2 separate regions of the Homo sapiens genome follow, and region 2 is linked to region 1. The links are contacts of gene promoters, found by promoter capture Hi-C in human tissues and cell types (Jung and others, 2019). All regions are on one chromosome and are shown on one strand. The core of a region is centred on a gene start or on the middle of the fragment in contact, and the rest is flanking DNA. Distances in the headings are between cores, read along the strand shown. Region 1 holds the start of SNX22 (sorting nexin 22). Region 2 overlaps USP3 (ubiquitin specific peptidase 3).

Region 1 (3,577 bases), core at 811-3,310:
GGAAATGAGGTGGAAGATGGAGGCTGGGCTGGGTTGTTTACAGCTTTGTGGATTGCATAGAGAGAGTGGGTTTTATTCTAAGTGCAGTGGGAAACATTGGAAGGTTTTAAGCACATGCCTTGATAACAGTTTGTGCTGCAGGGTAGAGAATGGACGTTCTATTGGGGATGAAGGCAGGAAAAAATGGAGACTCACAGACAGAGGGGCAGACAGTCATTAGGATGAGGACCAAGAAGTCTGAGGATCCCAGGAGAGGCCTCCCTGGACAGTGGGAGTTGGGGAGGCCCTGTAGGCCAGGGAAAGCTGGGTCCCTGAATGATGGGGCCGTAGGGAGGAAATGAAAGCACAGCACTTCTCCTCACTCTGGGCTGCTTTTCTTCTAGGGGACCCCACTAGAATCTGGGAAGTTTCAGCTTCCTGATTCTGTGGTCCTTGTGTGATGCAATTTGGAAAAAGAGAATGTGGGACATGATATTGGTGAGACCTGTTTGCCCCATTTTGGGGTCGTCATCTCAGCCCTTCTCTGGGGGCAGGGCTGGGGATGGAGGTTTTTTGCTCCAGCTCAGAGGCGTCTCTGCAGAAGCAGGGGAGGGGTGAGTCCCCTCAACCCCAGCCCCGAAGACAGGCACTCTGCTTCCTCCTGCCCACCCCAAGACCTCCCACTACGTATGAGCTTTGGAAGGCAGGGCCTCGCCTCTCTGCATGTCACGGGGCCTTTGTGGGGGAAGTCAGTGGAGTAGAGGACCTGCCATGGTGCTGCTGATAGCAGCTCTCCGACAGCTGAAGGGTGCAGGGCTGAGAGGTGGGAGCAGAGGTCCTTTCCAGCACATGGCCTGAGAGAGTTCTGGATCAAAATCCTGCCACATATCCAGGAAGAACCTGCCCGGAGGGGTGGACAAGAGCAACCCGGTGCCACCCCCCAAAGTCTCTCTTCCCATCCACTGCCCTGTGCCCACTTATCCTAGTCATCCAGGAGAAGCCCACAGTCAAGCTGCTGCTCAATGCTTCTGTTAAGGGCCTAACATGAATCATCTCACTTTTTTTTTTTTTTAAGACAGAGTCTTGCTGTTGCCCAGTCTGGAGTGCAATGGTTTGATCTCGGCTCACTGCAACCTCCGCCTCTCAGGTTCAAGTGATTCTCCCGCCTCAGCCTCCTGAGTAGCTGGGATTACAGGCATGTGCCACCACACCTGGTTGATTTTTGTATTTTTAGTAGGTACGGGGTTTCACCATGTTGGTCAGGCTGGTCTCGAACTCCTGACCTCAGGTGATCCGCCTACCTCGGCCTCCCAAAGTGCTGGGATTACAGGCGTGAGCCACCGCGCCCGGCCAAATCATCTCACTTTATACACTTGCCTGAAGGAGCCACGTTATCCCTATTTTGCAGATGAGCAAAGGTCTACGGAGCTCCTGAAATCCAGGCAGTCTGACGTCCAAATCGGAGTCTAGGTCCCTAAACTGCCTCTTCCCCACAAACAGCCTGGAGCCCCTTAGGGTTGGAAGATATGAGTGAATGGATGGATGAAAACAATGAATGAATGGGGGGGCCTGTGGATGCTGGGGAAAGGGGCATCAAAGCTGGACTGGGTCCAAGCCTTGCTCAGGTGTGGCCTCAGCCGGGGAATCCAGATCACAATTTCAGGGACCAGGCTGAAAGGAGGGAAAGGCTCGGGAAGGGACTGAGGAACCCAAGACAGGTCCCTGGTTGGCCCCAGGACCGGCGCTGAGGCCCGGGCCCCGCCTCCGTCCGCGCCTGGAGCCACAGGCCGTCCTTGGTAGGCGCTTAACTCAGGTTGGGTGACATTTTCGCTCGCCAGTTCCTGGCATCAGTGAGTGCTCCGTCAATGTTTGACAAACGGTTGACTCCACTGCCCCGCGCTGTGGGCGCACTAGACTTCGGGGGCGGCGTCCAGGTCCCGCCTAATCTTCTAGGCTCAGGACCCGCGGCGCAAGGGAACGCCCGGGGCGGGGTCGCCTGGGGGCGGGGCCTGGGGTGGGGCCTGCGGACCGAGGGGGCGGAGCCGGCCGCCCCGGGGTCCTCAGTCCGCTCCGGGAGAGTTAGGGCTCCGAGCCGAGCGCGCGGAGCAGCTGGGGCCGGGGCGCGGATGCTGGAAGTTCACATCCCGTCGGTGGGGCCCGAGGCCGAGGGGCCCAGGCAGAGCCCGGAGAAAAGCCACATGGTGAGCGCGGCCCCTGGATGGGGAGGGGCGCCGGGACCCGCAGGATTTCCCCGCGCTGCGCTCAGTGGGGACCCGGGGCCCGGGCCTGGGTGAACGAGCGCTGCGGGCTGGACCGTCGGGGGAAACCTTGTCGAGGGTTTGGGGGCCGCTTGGATTTGCCAGCCTCGCGGACCATGGTTCGAGCTCTTGAGGGACCCCAGGGCTCCGAGGGGCAGGTCCGCCAGCCGGTTCTCCCAGGTGTGCGGGAGCGGAGAGTCCCCGGGCAGCCGCGGCGCCGCAAGGCCGCTTTGTGCCTTTGAGAGCGGGAGGGTGGGCACGTCGCCAGGCGCAGGTGCTGCGGCGTCCTCCCGCGGGGCCTCACGCGCAGACCCGCTGCCCGCCCGCGCCGCCAGGTGTTCCGAGTGGAGGTGCTGTGCAGCGGGCGCAGACACACGGTGCCAAGGCGCTACAGCGAGTTCCACGCGCTGCACAAGCGGGTGAGGCGGCGCCGACCTCCCACCGGCCCCGGCCCAGCCTCTGTCCAGCCCCCGCCCAGGCCCTGTGAGGCGGGCGGGCGAGCCCCAGCCTCCGCCACCCCCATTACTGCCTCAGTCCCTGCGCAGCCGGTCAGCCCCCGGGCCTCTGTGGGTGGGTTGGGGCCTTCCTCGCCCTCGGCCGGTCCACCACTCACCAGGGTCTGTCCCAGTAGAGCCCGAAGGCGGGGGCGCGGGAGGGCTTCTGGCTGGGGCGAAGAGGGCTTGAGGGCTCAGTCGGGATGCTGTGATCGCACGCGGTAAACCTCCAGTAGATCAAGAAGCTGTACAAAGTGCCCGACTTCCCCTCGAAACGCCTGCCCAACTGGAGGACCAGAGGGTTGGAACAGCGCCGGCAGGGCTTGGAGGCTTACATCCAGGTATGCGAGAGCACAGTTGGTTGCCCCCCGGCCTTCTGTGCCAGGGGTGTGGCCCAGACAGAGAGGTGTGGGGGCATGGCAGGGAGGGAACCCACAACTTGGGGATGTTATTCACCACCTCAAGCATCAATTTTCTGAGTCTAATATAGGTCCAAACACCCCCCTCTGGCTTGTTGAAAGGACTGAAAGAGGTAACGGACACAGGTAGTCCCAGCTCCATGAAACCCAGGTCCTGTCCCCTCCATGGTGAGGTCCTGTGCTGCCCTCCTGATGGCATGTAGGGTGAGGGTCCTTCCCCCAACAGCAAAGCTATGCCGCGTCATGGGGTACAACCTGTGCACACAGCGCCCAGCGCCCAGAAGGGCCCTGAGCCTGGTTCAACGCTCTGCTGTCATTGTCGTGAAATTCTTTTTTTGGAACAAAGAGCCCTGCATTTTCACTGGCACTGCGCTATGCAAATTAGTAGCTGGGTCTGATTGCAGGTCTCCTCTGTCCTCTCCAGGGC
Region 2 (3,405 bases), core at 659-3,158, 630 kb before region 1:
GAATTTGCCTCTGTGTGGGAAGTCAGCAGGACCAGATGCCCCTCTCTTCTTTGGCTCTGTAGGTATCTGGATCTCTTAACATATAGATGACAAGTTTTGGCCAGCTTTGAAATTACATTTGCTAGTGGAGGACACATATCATTAACTCTGCAGTGGGAATAAGGAATTCAGTAGGTGCCTGACCCCAAATGATAAACTGCTATTCTAATTTTTATGCTGTGTAATATATTTTAGACTTTTTAATAAAAAAGATAAAAATTGAGCAATTTCATGAATTGTTATGTTACATCAATTTACCATATGAAGATTAATTCATGTTTTCAGAACAGTAATACACATTTCTGAAATATACAGAGACAGGTAATAGTATCAAAGGGCTTAAAATAGAATTTTAGTCTTCCTCGCCTCCACTCTCAGTCCTGCTGTCCACAGACAATCTCTGTAGGCTCTATTTAGCATTCTCTCTCATATTTACCTGCATAATTCTAACCAATGCTCTGTTATTTCTTAATTTGTCATTTTTAGGTATTATTCCTTGATATCTTGCTGTGGTAAATGAAGACTTCAGTGTTTGCACCACTTGCCCTTCAGTCTCTCCATTTCCCAATATAATTAGATTACATATTTTGGTTACTATAGTGATTCATTTTTCTTTCTTGTCCAACATTTTATTTTTTCTTGAGTCAATAATTGCCTCTTTTAAAAATTGCTTAGTTTACCTTAGACACATTTTCTCTTAAATGTTCCTTTAAACCTGTCAAAGGTCTGTGAATATTATTTTTTAACCCATTCAACGGATTAGATAATCTCCAAGCACTAACTCTTTTCTAAAATCCTTTCCAGAGCCCTCTGACCTCTGCTGTCATTTGAAATAGTTCTCCAGGCTGGACAGTTTTTATCGTGTGATTCCCTCTGTTGTTCTCTTATAATATTAGATCCCTTATTTCTTGGATCCCATGTCTTGTTTTTCTTGGTTTATTTCATTGTTTTGCTGGAGTACATCAAGCTCCTTTCTCACAGGAGGTAATTTTTTTTTCTCTAATTGCATGGCACATTAAGGGAGGTAAATTTTTGAGCCTTTGCAAGTCTGACATTTTTATTTTACCTTTATACTTGATTGCTTGGCTGAATAGAAAATATTAGTAAGAAAATAATTTTCCTTTAGAGTTTTAAAGGCATTGTTGGTTTGTTTCTAGGCTCCCAGAGTTGCTGTTGAGAAACCTGATGCCTTCCTGATTTCCTCCTCCACATATGTCCTTTTATTCTTTTTCCTATAATTCTTTAAGGTATTCTTTTCATCCTCTGTATTCTGAAATTTCAAAATATGGCTGGGCATGGGTAGTTTTTTTTTTATTTTATTTTTAATAGGAAGTGAAGGGATTTTTTTATGTATAGGTTCACATCCTTGAGTTAAAAGACATTTTTTTGTACTATAAATTTGATAGTGTGCTCCTCCCCCCATACTTATATCCCCCAATTTATTCTTTTTTTTCTTTCTGGAACTCTTATTAGTTGGATGTTGGGTGTCCTGAGTGTAGTCTCTGATTTTCTTATTTCTTTGCCTTTTGGTTCTAGTTTCTGGTATATTTCCTTGATTTTTTTTTTTATTATATTATACTTTAAGTTTTAGGGTACATGTGCACAATGTGCAGGTAAGTTATATATGTATACATGTGCCATGTTGGTGTGCTGCACCCATTAACTCGTCATTAGGCTTATTTAACATTAGGTATATCTCCTAATGCTATCCCTCCCCACTCCCCCCAATTTCCTTGATATTTTTTCTTCCATTCCTTCTGTTGAATTTTGATCATTGTATTTAAAAATTTTAAGAGCTCTTTCTCATTTCCCAATCATTCCTTTTTCACATATCCTCTTGCTATTGTTTTGCAGTATCTTCTCTTACCACTCCAGCAGTTCAGAGTATGTTGGTTTTGAAGTTTTGCTGTGCTCCCTGTATGGTTTCTATTTCTCCTGGGTTCCTCTTTTTCTTTTTAAAATGATTCTTTCAGATTGGAGGTTTTCTATAAAGATCTGTTTTGTCTTTGTCTTTTCATATAACAGTGAACTTTTTCATGTAAAAAGCTTTGTAACTGGGTGGGGCTTGTCCACAGTGGGCTTCACTGTGAGGTGGGGAGCAAGTCACCTTCATTGGAGGAAGACACTCATATCTGTGCTGAGAATTTTTTCTGGTACCATTGAGTTTTTCGGTTTTCCCTCTGGGAGGTGGGCACCTGGCCACTGATGTTCTGAGATCAGATTGCAGAAGTTCCATGACTCAGTTGTCCTTAGAGTCCCTAGTCTCCTTGTGTTCAGTCCTGTCCTTACCTGCTGTCTGCTGTGTCCCTATACCTAGAGCTCCTCCCATCTGCATTCTTCCTGGCTGACACTCAGGCCATAGCTTCCTCTGCACTACTAAGATTGTTATTGCTCCCCTAACTTCTTTCTCACTTACAAAAAGCTGTTGAAATCTTTTGTCTGCTTTGGTTACCTCACACTGTTCTCTTTATCTTTGTGGGTTTGTATCTGTTTTTTTCCTTTATTGTCATTTAAGTGGGTCTTAGGTGGGAGAAGAGCTAAGTAGAATTTGCCACGTTTAGTTTAGTGTCCATTTTTAAATGTATATCATTTGTAATCCTGTTTTTAGGGCACAGTGTTTTGCCCTATCAGAAATGGATCTTATTAGTTACTCAGAGTTAAATCATTGAACTGAAATTTTACATTAATCTATTTGAATAAAAATTTATATTCAGATTTACCTTCTCTGATAAATAGAACAAAATATTGTTGCTGTTATCAGAGTCAGCAGAGAAAATAGGCAAGCCAGGGGGTTCGACCTTGCTTGGAAAGTCAGATCACAAGCCAGGCTTTGGATAGGTATATGCCTGTGAAAGAAAGTTGTAAGGTCATTGGGACTACTGCAGTTAATGCATTGTAATACTTTTATTGGACTAGCTCATCATTCATTAATGAAGGCAAGTTAGTGCCAGGTTTATAGGATTTTTGGCTCTGTACATTGGTAATTTAACCTTCTCCCTTGTGTTTTAGTTTTTAAAAAGTATGATCTTAATTGGAAGTAAAGGACACAGATTTTTAATCTCAGAATTTAAAAAGACTTTTGATTTTGATATAATTTTATACTCAGAGAAACACTGCTAAGAATAGTACATACAAAGAACTTCCGTATACTTAGATTTGCCAGTCGTTCACATTTTGCCTCATTTGTTTTATCATGTATATATTTACTCTCTGTTTATATATTTCCCCTTATTAATTTACAGATATAACACTCCTTTATCCATAGTTTTGTTTTTCCCCAAGAACAGGTCTCTTTTTTTTTTGGGACGGAGTCTTGCTCCGTTGCCCAGGCTGGAGTGCAGTGGCGTGATCTCGGCTCACTGCAAG

Evidence for each region. The method cuts DNA at HindIII sites, captures the fragments that hold promoters and counts their contacts. A contact is called where the count stands out against the background at its distance.
Region 2: a fragment that was not itself captured here is called in contact with the fragment with the promoter of SNX22 in region 1 in 1 of the 25 tissues and cell types used here (lymphoblastoid cells).

What each region holds. Positions count from the first base shown.
Region 1 is chr15:64,149,671-64,153,247 of GRCh38, forward strand. SNX22 (sorting nexin 22) reads left to right here and starts at 2,061. Exons shown (of 7, transcript NM_024798.3): 1 at 2,061-2,180; 2 at 2,573-2,656; 3 at 2,968-3,072; 4 at 3,575-3,577. The coding sequence starts at 2,106. RefSeq lists an enhancer at 720-829 and silencers at 1,747-2,186, 2,387-2,766. The HindIII fragment of the contact is 9,247 bases long and covers 1-3,577 here.
Region 2 is chr15:63,515,443-63,518,847 of GRCh38, forward strand. All of the region lies in intron 1 of USP3 (ubiquitin specific peptidase 3), which reads left to right. Among named protein-coding and RNA genes, the nearest start is that of USP3, 13 kb to the left of the region's middle. The HindIII fragment of the contact is 5,951 bases long and covers 1-3,405 here.